Regions from separate parts of the Homo sapiens genome. Here region 2 is linked to region 1. The links are contacts of gene promoters, found by promoter capture Hi-C in human tissues and cell types (Jung and others, 2019). All regions are on one chromosome and are shown on one strand. Each heading gives the region's core, a stretch centred on a gene start or on the middle of the fragment in contact. The rest is flanking DNA. Distances are from core to core; before and after follow the strand shown. Region 1 holds the start of GABRA1 (gamma-aminobutyric acid type A receptor subunit alpha1). Region 2 overlaps LOC105377700 (a long non-coding RNA gene).

What was found. Contacts are between HindIII fragments. The study calls those that stand out against the background at their distance.
Region 2: a contact is called between a fragment that was not itself captured here and the fragment with the promoter of GABRA1 in region 1, in 1 of the 25 tissues and cell types used here (dorsolateral prefrontal cortex).

The regions. Positions count from the first base shown.
Region 1 is chr5:161,845,188-161,852,607 of GRCh38, forward strand. It overlaps GABRA1 (gamma-aminobutyric acid type A receptor subunit alpha1), which reads left to right and starts at 2,933. Exons shown (of 10, transcript NM_001127644.2): 1 at 2,933-3,235; 2 at 5,609-5,697. The coding sequence starts at 5,624. LOC105377696 (a long non-coding RNA gene) reads right to left here and starts at 5,406. Exons shown (of 3, transcript XR_941158.4): 1 at 5,333-5,406. The HindIII fragment of the contact is 3,679 bases long and covers 1-3,616 here.
Region 2 is chr5:163,382,742-163,390,472 of GRCh38, forward strand. All of the region lies in intron 1 of LOC105377700 (a long non-coding RNA gene), which reads right to left. Among named protein-coding and RNA genes, the nearest start is that of CCNG1, 51 kb to the right of the region's middle. The HindIII fragment of the contact is 5,828 bases long and covers 1-5,639 here.

The DNA of each region.
Region 1 (7,420 bases), core at 1,683-4,182:
AATGAAAAAGATTTTACTATGAGCTCACAGTCTCACAGTAAGGAAAGAGAGTAATGTAGGAGTGTGGTTAAGAGAATAGGCTTTGAAGTCAGAGCATTTGGATTTGCATTTTAGTGTGGATATTCACTAGCTGTGTGACCTTAGGCAAGTCTTTTGATCTCTCTAGTCTACAATTTACTGAATGATTTGTATAACAGAAATATTAAGACCATCTCTCATAGAGACTCATTTTGAGAATCAAATTGAATTATTATGAAAATTACTTTTCACATTACTTGGCACCAAGTAAACACTCTAAGAATATTAAACACCATAGTTATTATCATTTAAAAAAACTGACATCATTATATGCACACATAGTTTGAAGTGGTTCATTCTGGCTAAAACAAAACACAAGAATATCAAAAATTATATAAAATATTGAATATAAAAACACAATATAAAGTATTTTCTTGTCATTAATTTATTATATTTTATGGTAGTATGTGCATATATTAATGACATATCAGATGGAACACAATAAACACACCCATAATTAGAGTATCAATTGATGTTTTGGAGTATTAAAATATCATTATTTTTAAACACTCACAATTTATGAAAAATATAGATGTCTTAAAGCAAATTACATGTATGTGTGTATGTATACATACATGCATATACATATTACAAGCTGATATTCATAGAGAATCATCTAGTAAAATCTACCTTGTGAGTATTACATTTTAAAGAGAGAATCATAGTATAGGTATTTCCATTTCCATATACACACTATAGCCCCCAAATTATTTAATATTTATTTCTTTAAATGTTTGAAAACGCTGTGCAATTGTATCCTGTTTCATAGTCACATAACATTTTTTAATCTGAAGCAGAATGTAATTGGCATTGCTCTGAGACTATTGTTCACATGATGAAGCTTCAGTGAATTTGTTTGCAAAACCAAAATCAGTAGAGTGATTTAGTTGTGTTTCATTAGATAAAGGATATAAATTTATTTTCAATTTGTAGAAGATCATAAAAGGACCTGCAACAGTTTAGCCAGGAGAACACTAAAAATTCAGATTTTTATAACTGTTGACTTTCATTAAAACAAGACAAAACTGTGGAATTGCATTGTAGATGAAGTAAAAGAATAATGTTTTCTAATCGTTAACTCAGGATTTCATTATTAATTATAAATCTCATTAAATTCAGTTTTATTCTCCAAACCACTCAATAAATTAATTAATCAATGGATAAGTAAATAAAAATTGGGTAATGACACATAGGGAAGCTGTGATGTTTCTTCAGCGAATATCTTTAAGAATACATTGGCATTTATTATATCTGAACATAACAGGCAATTAACTACTGCCCAGAAACAGGGCTATCTTAACATAATCTTCAAATCTCTCTTCCAAAAGTTTATCTCTAAAATCACTTCCCAGTTGACACTTGACCACAAAACTCAGAAGGTAACCAAGCCCAACCCCTAATGTGGTCTTCAGTTTTATATTCCTTATTATTGCAATCACCTTATTTAAGTTTTAATCATTAAGCTGATTGCATTGCTGCACAAGGTCAAGAAGCACTTGTAGAATCAGAAACCCCAAAGTGGTTATGGACTGGCTACTCAGATTTTTTTCTTCACTTGCTCAGGCTCCGCCCCATCTGAAACGTCTTCTCTGCTAGGAACTCACTAGGAGAAAATGACCAGTGAGCTTACCAAAGCTCAGACCTTATCCACCAGAAACATTGTATGGGGCACCTCACCTTTTCAGCACCTCCTGCCATAACAGGACGGAAGTGCTGAAGGGACAGCTCCCAGTGTTTTAGGTCTTAGTAAGCGCTCCCAGGAAGACAGCACCCATCCCCTCTCTGCTACAAACAGCCATTCACAAAATCCGAGGAGGAAACCAAGTCATCCCTGATTCCTTGGAAATTTAGTTAGACTGATGTTGAAACACACCCCCCTTTCCTAGTGTATAATTATTTGTGGGTGGAGAGCTACCAGGGAGGGTAACAGAAGATGCCGGAGAAGGGGGGGGAAAAGTAGATGCGGATTTCGTCCTGACTTCTAAAAATTCCTCCTCTCCCTCTCCCATTTTCCTAATCCGAGAATGATGGAGCTCGAGGCAAAGGAATGATTCCGGAAATGGAGATATGATTCTCAAACCTAGAAATGATCGGAGTGATTTATTAGTTAAATATTCTTCGTCCAGGAACCCAGCACAATTCAGAGGTAACAGCGCCTGCGTTTTCTCCATGATAACATAGACAAACAGTTGCCTCCAAAGGTAAAAACCCGGTTCCGGAGGGTATTCTTGCTGTCCTCTAAGCTACAGAAGAAGGTGGGGTGGAAAGCGCTCCCAACCTGAGAAAGTGCGAAAGACTCTCTAAATCCAGTAGCCAATTTCCTACCTGCCAGAACTCTTTCCTACCATCCGTCACCATTCGTGACTCTGCAAGACACGGGGACTTAGACATATGTGTGGGAGTGTGTGTGTGAGGGAGAGAGGCGAGACGAGTGCTCTCCCCACACGTGTAACCCTGCATCTCCCAGTTTCAGAGCTTGCGTTCATTCATATGCAGGCAGTGGTTTAATATTTGATCAAAGGTAGAATAGTTGCACTAAATAGTTGTATTTTTAATGGGCTCACCTTAAAATCGGGTGTTCATAAATTGCAAGTGTGAAAAGACTCTAAGTGCAGTCCGTATGTCTCTCACCCTTTCTACCCTTCCCTCCCCCATTGCCGCTCCCCCCAAAAAGAGAAGCTTGCAGCAGATTGTAGAAGGATTTGAGCCTGCAGCTAGAGAGAAGGGGATTAGGGCCAGAGTGGTGCAAGTTAAATTGTGCTGCATATAAAAAATGGGCGGATTGGTCTCCAGATCCAGAGGCTGGTACCACCTTCCTTTCTAAAATAAAATCTCTCTGGCATGAAGTCACCGCCTATTTCACATCCGGTTTGCCCTGGGACGTATTACTACTGTCTTGGTAAAGAGAAATCTTTTGTTGTATAGCTGCAGATTGGATATTGGGAAGCAAATTTGGGTGTGAAATCTTCAGCAAAGGAGCACGCAGAGTCCATGATGGCTCAGACCAAGTGAGTGAGAGGCAGAGCGAGGACGCCCCTCTGCTCTGGCGCGCCCGGACTCGGACTCGCAGACTCGCGCTGGCTCCAGTCTCTCCACGATTCTCTCTCCCAGACTTTTCCCCGGTCTTAAGAGATCCTGTGTCCAGAGGGGGCCTTAGGTAAGTGCGACTTTGGACCACGATACACAGACAGAGCTTTGAACGTGGCTTTTCCTAGCTGGAGAGACAGGAATGTTATAGTCGGGGGGGGGGGGCGGGGGGAGACGGGGGGAGAGAGAGAGAGAGAGAAGAAGGAGAGCGAGCGAGCGAGCAAGGGAGCGAGCAGGACAGGAGCCTGATCCCACAGCAGGTAGAAACAACGAAATGTTTTTCTTTCAGGGTGAAACCGCAGCAATATAAGAGCATTATTATTATTTTTTTCCCGCTGTCTTTCTTCTTTTCTTCTCCTCTTTCTTAGGCATATTTGAATGTATTCCGCAGGGTGGGTGGTGGCATGTTGTTTTGGTCTTTTATTTATTTATTTATTTGCAAGGGGGAGCTGGGGTGAGTTGGGGAGGGGCGTCGGGGGCCATCATCTAAAGTTAAGACGCTGGGACGGAAAACCTGTCTCACTGTTCCATCATCCTAGGGAAGGCACGCTCTTGTCCTGGCTGCAAAATTGCCTGTTTTTCCCTTTCCAGTGGACGCTGGTGAAATGCCCTCTTGTGTAGGGGTCTCTCCCATTCTGAACACGAAAACTCAACTTAGTCTTTGATATGGATGGCATGGGATGGTAACGTTTGGAGCGTGTGTCTGGGGGAGGGGGAGGTTGAAGGTAGAAAGTGGTAAGACTGCAGCTTAGCCTTTCTTTTAAACTATTATGTTTGTATTTGCAAGAAACTTTCTTAACAACTGAAGTGCCATGATAGGTTTGTTTTTCTCTTTTAAAAATGTCAGAAGAGGGCAAAAATCTATGGTGCCTTGTCAAATGGTTTTGCTGTGTTTTGTTTACCCATTCAGATATTCAATCTTTTTAAAAAGATCAACAAAAATTAATAGGGCTAAGAAAAGTTGTTTTTCCCTTGTAACAAACGATGAAGATTAGTAAAAGGGTAAATTAAAATTTTGCAATTTAGATGTAGCATTTTAACATAATATTTATCCAAGATTTCTTGTCATAGTCAACTAATCTGTTTCAAAACCAGTCACTAAATTACTAAATTAAGGAAAAGCTATGACGAGGCTCAGAGTTCTTATCTCTAGACCATTTCGCTCTAAACATATTATGTTTCATTGCTTACAAGCCTGTTTGTAATGGTTTTTAGTGATTTAAATGATTTCCCGAGACTGCAGAAAGCATTTTGTAGATGTATTTAAAGGCATACCACATTAAACTATAGAGGGTTTAATGAAAAAGAAGCTTTAAAAGATTGCAGTCTATTAATCACTTACCCTACAAAGAAATATAGATTAAATACTTTGAACATTCCTTATATTATGACTGGAATTAATTACAGCACATTAAAATGTTACCATAGCTGCTCCTTATCCAGGTAGTGCATTGAATTTCGAAAACTGACTCCACACATAGACTATATACATTTTTAATTCTCTAAGCTTTCTGTACTCTTCCAGTTCTCCAACATTCCACTACCAAGTCTAAATTCAACAATCAGATGGTGATTGATTGCACTTTACCTAAGAGGTAAAAAGATCCCTTTATTCATGCAAAGCAAAGCACTCCAGCTTCCATCTGTTTGAGATGAAACATTTTCTAGCAGCAACCTGGCAGAATTTGAGAGGGCTTGAAAGATATGTGTGGGCATGTTTGTGTGCATTTGTGTGTGTGTGTGTGTGTGTGTGTGGTTTGTATGTGAGAGAGATCAGCACATGGCTTGACTATAAAGTGTGTCCTTTAGCTTCACAGAAACATTAGGAAGCATGTTTAACAAAGCAGTCACAGGAACAGAATAAAAGCACGACTCCGGCATTCAACAGTGTGTTTCCTATGTTTTTAAATAGAAATAAATACAGTTGCTTCTGAAATCAAGGTACCTGCAGAATTCAAAGAGGAATTCAGCCATCACAACATGTTAACCTATCCCCTCCAATCCCTAAATATGTTCTTCCTGTTAGAGACACCAGCTTAAAAATTTTAATGCACAGTTCACTGTGGAAACTGAAATCTTAAAAGTCCAAATATTTAGATGATAAACAACAAGAAGAGAATAAACCAAACTATATTCTAAATATAAAACCTAGAGATAAACAACTCACAGTTTTTATGTTGAGCAATACTGTCACCTGAAAGCGTTTCAGCTTGTATTCTTTTACAGGAGAATAAGGACACTGATATATTTCTGAATGGAGAAATGGAAGGGAAAGTGGAGAATGGATGGTCCAGGTTTCCATTGCTTCCAATGAGGTGTCATATCCCAGTGAGGTCATTTCCTGACTTCAAAGCATTCATCTAAACTGCCTCAGTCAGCCCTGGTGGTTATAACCTGATGTTTCTTGCTAGAGACATTGATCTCTACTTATTCTACTTTTCAGCTGCTCCAGCCCGCGATGAGGAAAAGTCCAGGTCTGTCTGACTGTCTTTGGGCCTGGATCCTCCTTCTGAGCACACTGACTGGAAGAAGGTGGGGACACTTTTTTAAAAATCTGCATGAAAATTTCTGTAACTTTTCATTTATTTTATCGGGGGAAGAAAATTGTCCTCAAATGAATTTATGACTAAGGGAATTCAGAAAACTTAACTGCAATAATTTCCAGCTAAGAATAAAGAGGAGCAGTATGAAACAAATCATTATGTTTGCACGTTAGTTAGAATACAATTAACAAGCCATTGTTAAGACATGTATTAATTCAACATTTAAGTCTTAGATTGAACTTCTCACTGTTCAGTTGGAACTGAACAAAACGTGCGGTTTCCTAATTCATAGAAAAAGTTACCCCAATTAGTGGTTGCATACTGTGTAACCTGATTTAACAACAAGAAAATTTCTAGCCTATTGTAAAGATCATAGAGTAACTTTTGTGTTTATAGAAATGGAAAGTTTTAAATAATATCTGTTATTTGAAAATCACGTCTCTCTAAATGCATATGCATATCACGTTTTGAAATTGTTATCTATATAACTAATAAAAGTGGACTATATGAGACAAATATTTAAGAACTTTGGTAAAATCAAATTTCCCTATTAAAAAAACAATTACTAATTGTTTATAAAGCTTAATCATAGTCAAAATATGTTCTAATGATCCAATCAAGCATGTGAAATTAATATAATAGAAACTATTTACATGACTAAGTATTACAGATTTTTCTTTATCTGCTTTTGTATTTCTTGTGTAGCCTATTCCTGTGACCCATAAGAAGGTCAGACATATAATAAAAACATGAGTTTATTCAAAATGTAATGGCAAGGGAACTCTTAAGAGTTAAGATAGGGAGATGGAATAGTCTGGAAAGACATATGAATTTAGGAAGATTTATTTTAATTCAGAAGTTTTCTGTTGTTGTTTTTTGCTATTGTGTATGGTAAACACTGACAGACAGGCATTATTATCAGATATCCTTAATGAGAGAAGTTAAATGTCTTTACTGCTTTTGAAAAATTATATGAAGTGTTACTATTGCAATGACCTGTAGATGGAGTTAGTGCACAGTGTTTTATTATATAGTGGTTCATATGGAATCAAAATCAGGTAATGTAACTGGCATTTCTCTTCAAAATATATATTCAGTTTAGGAAACACTACATTGGGATGAGTGTTTAATACAAAATGAATAAGCATCTTATTCGTAGGGTTTTTTTCTGGCAATTAAAACTTGACATAGTAAGTTAGAAGTAAAGATGAAATGTCATTAAAAAATCACGTAAAATAAAGATTTCCATTCCAGCTGGGAAAGCAGAACTGGTCTTGGGGAAAAGGCAGTGGTCTCTTTGGGCATCTGCATTCCAATGCAAACAATTGGTGAAAACATTTGTAAGACAAAACCAGGAAGAAAAGCATTTTCTGAATTTTATATAAGCTGTAAAAACTTAGAGGGTGTAGATAAAGGTAATAAACACTCTATATTTTAAGAATTGTTTTAATAATTTAAGTTTATTTAGTCATGTTACCCCATTTCATCTTTTATTTCTTCTTATTGTATTGCTTTCTTCCTCAGAGTTCCCGATCAGGGCCTCCTCACAACTTAGGGTGTTCTAGCATTTATTTTCCATCTTTATCAAGATGACCTTCCAGCATCCTTGAAAGATGCAGGAATGGCAGTTGATTTTGTGACAATGAGTTTTTATAAATAATTGCATTCACAAAACTATTTTTGCCTTACTGTTGTCTTCTGCCAATGAGACA
Region 2 (7,731 bases), core at 1,476-3,975, 1.5 Mb after region 1:
TCTAGATCAGACCAGCTAAATACCATTGAGTGACCATCAAACAACAGGCGAAGAGGAGCAAGCCCCCAGCTAAGTTCTATTCAAACCTTTAACCAAGAAGATGATGAGATAATAAAATAGTACTTGTCTTAACCCATTAATTTTGGGTGAATTATTACACAACACTGGAACACACAATAGAAGGCAGAATGGAATAGATGTCATTAAGACACAGGGCTATATAGGACACAGGTGGAGACCCATTGTTAACTAAACAAATTAGAGAAGAGTTCACAAAGATAGTGGTATCTCAGCTGGTCTTAAAGGATAAACAGGCTGGGCGTGGTGGCTCACGCCTATAATCCCAACACTTTCGGAGGCCAAGGCGGGAGGATCACTTGAGGTCAGGAGTTCGGGACCAGCCTGATCAATATAGTGAAACCCCATCTCTACTAAAAAATACAAAAATTAGCCGGGTGTGGTGGTGGGCACCTGTAGTCCCAGCTACTCAGGAGGCTAAGACAGGAGAATTGCTTGAACCCAGGAGGCAAAGGTTGCAGTGAGCCGAGATCGCACCACTGCACTCCAGCCTGGGCAATAAGAGCAAAACTCCGTCTCAAAAAAAAAAAAAAAGAAGAAGAAGAAAAGAAAAGTGAAAGTTTCGCCAGGTGCAGTGGCTCACGCCTGTAATTCCAGTACTTTGGGAGGCCGAATTGGGCAGATCACCCTAGGTCAGGAGTTCAAGACAAGCTTGGCCAACATGGCGAAATCCCGTCTCTACTGAAAATACAGAAATTAGCTAGATGCAGTGGCATGTGCCTGTAGTCCCAGCTACTTGGGAGGCTGAGGCTGGAGAATCACTTGAACCCGGGAGGTGGAGGTTGCAGTGAGCTGAGATCACACCACTGCACTCCAGCCTGGGCGACAAGAGTGAGACTCCATCTAAAAACAGAAAGAAAGAAAAGAAAAGAAAGGAAGGAAGGAGGGAAGGAAGGAAGGGAGGGAGGGAGGGAGGGAGGGAGGAAGGATGGACAGAAAGGAGGGAGGGAGGGAGGAGAGGGAGAAGGAAGGAAGGAAGGAAGGAAGGAAGGAAGGGAGGAAGGAAGGAAGGAAGGAAGGAAGAAAGTTTCTTTCCCCCAATCCCTCCTTATTAGTATGTAAAATCCCAGGGAAAGCCTCTGACTGGCTAACTTGTCCATGTCCCCTCCCTTAGACCAATCATTGTTACCAGCTGATAGGGTAATATTATTGGCCAGTGCCCAAAAACTGAGTTAATATAATCTACAGTCCCAACAGAATCACTAGTTATGAAGGAATGACAGTTCCTACTAACGATAAAGGAACAGTGCTGTAAATCAGAATCAGGATGAAAATATTATAGGGCCGATTAAAAATAAAACCAAACAGGCCAGGCGCAGTGACTCATGCCTGTAATCTCAACACTTTGGGAAGCCAGGGCAGGAAGACTGCTTGAGGCCAGAAGTTTACGACCAGCCTGTTCAAGATAGCAAGACCCCTCTCTACAAAAAATTAAAAATTAGCCGGGCATGGTGGTGCACACCTGTAGTCCTAGCTACTTGGGTGGCTGAGGTGGGAGGATCACTTGATCCCAGAAGTTCAAGGTTGTAGTGAGCTATGATTGTGCCACAGCTCTCTAGCCCGGGCAACAGAGCTAGAATCTGTCTTAAAAAAAAAAAAAAAAAAAAAAGTCCAGCACATGGATATAATGACTGACTTTGTTTGCAGATTTACCATGTGAACAATGGACCCTCACACTTTTAAGGGCTGCATAAGTATTCATTCCTCATGCCCTCCTTTCCCCATTCAACCCCAGTCGAGGCCAATTGACTCTAAACTTAAGAAATCATAATCCTGAAGGAGTTAAACAACTTTCCTATCATGTAAAGGTCAATGAATAGATCTTGCACCAGAATTCACCAATTCTGCATTCCTGACATGTGCAGCAAAGGCAAAACATTCAAGCACGGATACATACTTCTTGAGAATGCAAAATAAAAATATAGGCAACAAAAATAATGTGGAAAGTGGATAAATTTTCCACTCCTGCACAGCAGATTTTATTTCCAAACATCTCATTCCCTCCTAAAAAACTGCAGTGCAGATTTTGCAAACACGATGGGTTACATAAGTAGGATTATGTACTCTTCATGCAAACTCTGAAGCCAGCTGTCCATCCAGTTCTATTTCCCAGATAGGAAAAAGCATTACAACCCAGTTTCAACACAATGCTGGATAGATATTGATAAATTCTGACTCTCTCGTTTCAAGTTAGAAAAAGGAAAATATATTTTAAAAACGTATTCACCTAGACTCTTTTAATAAAGTCAGTGGCATTTAGACTATAGGATTATGGTTTTATAATTATATATTCAGTAAGAATATCAGGAATCCATACAATATATTTAAGTGTTATACGTTTGTTTCCTAAAAAATTCATATGTTCAAGTCTTAACCCCCTGAACTGCAGGATGTGACCTTATTTGGAGAAAGGGCCCTTACAGAGGTAATCAAGTTAAGATAAGGTCATTAGGGTAGGCTCTAATCTAGTATGACTGATGTTCTTATAAAAAGTGGAAATTTTGAGACAGCAAGACACAGAGAGCGAATACTACATGAAAATTCAGGCAGAGAGCAATGTGATGATTCTACAAGTCAAGGAACAGCAAACATTGCCAACAAACCACCAGAAGCCAGGCGAGAGTCTCCCTCTCAAGTCTCAGAGGGAATCAACTCTGCCAAAAATGTGATCGTGGATTTCCAACCTCCGGAACTGTGAGACAATACATGTCTGTTGCATAAGCCACTCAGTGTACAGTACTTTGCTATGGCAGCCCAAGGAAACTAATGCATTAAGCAAGAAACATCATGTAAGAAATGAAAGACGGAATACATTCCCTCTGAAAACAACTTTAATCTTTTATTCCTACATTTACTCTAACGAAGAGTTTAGTCTATTCTCTCCAGACCAAATAATCAGAAATTGAAGGTACTGTCTTCACAACACAGGCCCAAAATTCCACTATGTTTTATAAGTAAAGTTAGATTCCTTCCTGGTCCCTAAATTATGCAGATAACAGTCTCAACCCTCAGTTTTGGCTAGTCATTGGGAAGTAAGCCTGATTTCAAGTAGAGGAGTTTAGACCACCTTTCACCAAAAAAGACTACACTTCCATTTCACTCTGTTTGCTGGTCCATAGAGAAGAGACCAGAAAAAGGCTAGGTTTTCCCCTGCTAACCTGTGACTGCCTGCTAACCAAATCAGCCCGAGATTTATTATCTGCCCTAATCCTCCTGCTCAGTTCTATGAGGGTTCATGTTCCCTCTTATGCAAGTGCTGGGGGGTAGGGAAGGGAAGATAATGTTGGAAATGCAAGAGTAGCAATCTTTACTATCTGTAATAGTATATGTCAGGTAGGGTTGGGATCCAGTACCTGCCTAGGAGACTAAGGTTTTTCAACTTTTCTGTTTCAGATGCATTAGCCTCCCACCTAGCCAAGAAAATAAATCAGAACTTTAGTGAAGAGTTATAAATCTGATATCCCTGACGCTATGACTCCAAGCAGCTTTTTCCATAGGTCAGTGTACAGTTTTGGCAGAATTATATGGTCCATAGCTACTTATTCATTGGCCAATCTGATCATGAAATTCAATTGTTTCTCCAATAGGTAGCAAGAAAGCAGGATGCAGTGAAGGCAGTTACCAATTGGCCCTCAGCCTGGAAAGTCTGGACTTTGTTGCCATTCCAACCTCCTTGGGAGTCACTAACAGGCACAGAAATAAAATTGGGTTCAGGGTTATTGCATCATTCAAAAAACAAGGGTTCTAGGAGAAGCCTATGGTCCTGTTCTTGCCTCTGTTATCTTTTTGTTACAAAATGTAGCTGTTTGTCAATTGCAGAAGCTCACTGAAGAATGCAAAGAGCATGGTACATGTGCCAACCTATGCATTCAAAATGGCAAATGCCAAATTGTATTGTATAGGTAGATGGTATGGAGAGCATTTGGAAAAGGCATTGAGGTGCATGTGTTCTCAGCAGAAATAAAAGTTCAAAGCTTCAGGAATCTTTTAAATTTCAGCCCCTCTACTCTCCCAAATCTGCCCAATCCATCTGGCTGACATTCCTTTCACTTCAGGTTTCACTATTGCCTCTTTGCATGCCCCATTCCTTTGAGATTTGACTCTTCACGCATTGCCTTTTTTCTTTTCTTTTTTTTTTGGTTTGGTTTGGTTTGTTCTTGCGTCCAATACCTTTATTTTACATATAGAAGCTGAGACCAAAAAGAAACTTTGGGTAGTCTGCTCCAGGTCAAACATCCATGTCAGGAATTCTGATTCCCATGACAACGACCTGTCAACAACATTATACTTTTGAGCCACTGGAATTTTATTTAACTAATTGTGCTGCATTTAACTGTGTTTGTTATTTAAGGTATTCACAGTTATATTAGTTTAGACATCAGTTTGAACTCCATAATTGTAGACACACTTTAATCCTCCATATATGTTAAAACAAATGAACACTTGAGCTAACAGCAAAATAGTGTCCAGTGGAAATTATATGAACTTTAAGGAGTCAAGTGTCCTCCTTACTTTAAGGAGTAAAGTTTCATTTACAACTACAAATATATTGCATCAAGTGATATTACATTTAAACATCACAGGAGAGCCAGGCACCGTGGCATGTACCTATAGTCCCAGCTACTTGGGAGGGTGAGGCAGGGGTATCAGTTGAGCCCAGGAGTTCAAGTACAGCTTGGGCAACAAAGGGAGACCCTGTCTCGAAGAAAAATGGCAGTCATCCAACATTTTTAATTTTTTATTTTCCTTTATATTCCTGAGAATCACATTAAAGTAATACATTCTGAAATAATTTGCTTTATAGTCCTGAGAGTCACATAGAAGTAAAACATTCTTACCTACTGACTTTGAAATCACGTCCACTAAATTTCTCTATTCATACTACCTCCCTACTCCTACCTCGGCTCTACTCCTGTAGCTGAGAATCTTCTGTCTCTTCCTACAGCACAGCACCAGGTCACCAGCCAGGTCAGTCAAAGCCTTGATTTATTGTTTTTGAGGAGTGGGGGTAGGGGGACTTAAAACAACAGGAATTTATTCTCTCACAATTCTGGAGGCTAGAAGTCCAAGGTCAGTAGGGACCATAAGCTCTAGGAAAGAAACATTTCCATGATTTGTTCAGCTTTTAAATCCCCAAGTTTTCCTTGCAGCATCTTAATTCCAATTCTGCCTTTATCTTCACATGGTGTATTAGTCCCTTCTCATGCTGCTAATAAAGACATACCCAAGACTGGGCAATTTATAAAGGAAGGCAGTTTAATTGACTCACAGTTCAGCATGGCTGGGGGAGGCCTCAGGGGACTTAAGGAGACTTACAATCATGGTGAAAGGGGAAGCAAACATGTCCTTCTTCACATAGTGGCAACAAGGAGAAGTGCCCAGCAAAAAAGGGGAAAAGCTGCTTATGAAACCATCAGATCTTGTGAGAACTCACTCACTATCACGAGCACAGCATGAGGGTAACGGCCCCCATGATTCAATTACCTTGCACTGGGTCTCTCCCACAACATGCGGAGATTATGGGAACTACAATTCAGGATGGGGTTTGAGTGGGGACACAGCCAAACCTTATCTTTCCACCCTTGACCCCTCCCAAATCACATGTCCTCACATTTCAAAACACAATCATGCCTTTCCAACAATCCCCCAAAGTCTTAACTCATTCCAGCATTAACTCAAAAGTCCAAGTCCAAAGCCTCATCTGAGACAAGGCAAGTCTCTTCTGCCTATGAGCCTGCAAAATCAAAAGCAAGTTACTTACTTCCTAGACACAATGGGGGTACAGGCATTGGCTAAATGCTCCCATTCCAAATGGGAGAAATTGGCCAAAACAAAGGGGTTACAGGCCCCATGAAAGTCCAAAATACAATAGGGCAGTCATTAAACCTTAAAGTCCCAAAATGATCTTCTTTGACTCCATGTCTCACATCCAGGTCATGTTCGCTGATGCCAGAAGCGGGCTTCTACAGCCTTGGCCACATGGCCTTCTTCCTCCTTATGTGTCTGTGTCCTCTACCTCATCCTCTTCTTTTTTCTAATTATTACATAATGAGTGTAAATAATTCTGCTACTCATGTGATATTTTGATACATATATAAAATGTATAATAATCACATCAAGATATTTAGGATATCCTTCAACTCCAACATTTATTATTTATTTGTGTTGGGAACATTTCAAATCTTTTCTTGCTATTTTGAAATTCAAAAAATTATTGTTAAAACTATAGTCATCCTACTGAGCTATTAAATATGAGAATGTATTCCTTCTATCTAACTGTATATTTATACCCATTAACCAACCTCTCTGTATCTTTCTACCATGCTTTGCAGTCTCTGGTAATTACCACTCTATTCTCTACTCCATGAGAGTCACTTTTATAGCTTCCACACATGAGTAAGAACATGCAATATTTGTCTTCCTGTGCCTGGCTTATTTCACTTAGCATAATAACCTCTAGTTCCATCCATGTGGCTGCAAATGAGATGATTTTATTACTTTTGATGGCCAAATAGTATTACATTTTGTATATATACCACATTTTCTTTATCTGTTGAATTGCTGATGGAACTGTTGATTCCATATCTTGGCTACTGTGAATAGTGCTGCAATAAATATAGGAATACATGTACCCCTTTAATATATTGGCTTCTTCTCCTTTGGATAAATACTCAACAGTGGGATTGCTAGATCCTGTAGTGGTTCTATTTTTAGTTTTTTAAGAAATCACCATACTGTTTCCATAATGACTGTACTAATTTACATTCCCACCAACAGTGTGTAAGCATTTCCTTTTCTTCACATCTTAGCCAGCATTTGGTATTTTTTGTCTTTTTGGTAATAGCCAATCTGACTGGGGTAAGATGGTTTCTCCATGTGGTTTTGATTTGCATTTCTCTGATAATTAGTGATGTTGAGCAATTTTTTTATATACCTGTTGGTCATTTATATGTCTTCTTTGGAGAAATGTCTATTTAGATTTTTTGCCCACTTTTTAATGGGATTATCTGTATTTTTGCTGTTTAGTTGTTTGAGTTCCTCATACATTCTGGATATGATTCTTTTGTTGATAAATATTTTGCAAGTATTTTGTCTCATTTTGTAAGTTGTCTCTTTACTCTGTTGATTGATTCCTTTGCTATGTAGAAGCTTTTTAATTTAATATAGTCCCGTTTGTCTATTTCTTGTTTTGCTGTCTGTGCTTTTGAGGGCTTGCCTCAAAATCTTTACCTAGACCAACGTTCTGGAGTATTTTCCTGTTTTCTTCTAGTAATTTTATCAATTTAGGTTTTATGTTTAATTCTTTCATACATTTTGAGGATTTTTTTAATATCATGAGATATAGAAGTCTAGTTTCTTTTTTTATAGATACTCTATGTATACTGTACATATTTTTACATATATACTATATATACTTTATATATACTTTTTAATATATATAATATAAAAGTATTTTATACTTTTACTTTAAATTCAGGGGTACATGTGCAGGTTTGTTACTTAAGTGAGCATGTTTCATGGGAGTTTGTTGTATAGATTATTTCATCACCTAGGTATTAAACCTAGTACCTATTAGTTATTTTTTCCTGATCCTCTCCCTCCACATATCCTCCAAACTCTAATAGGAAGTCTAGTTTTATTCTTCTGCAAATG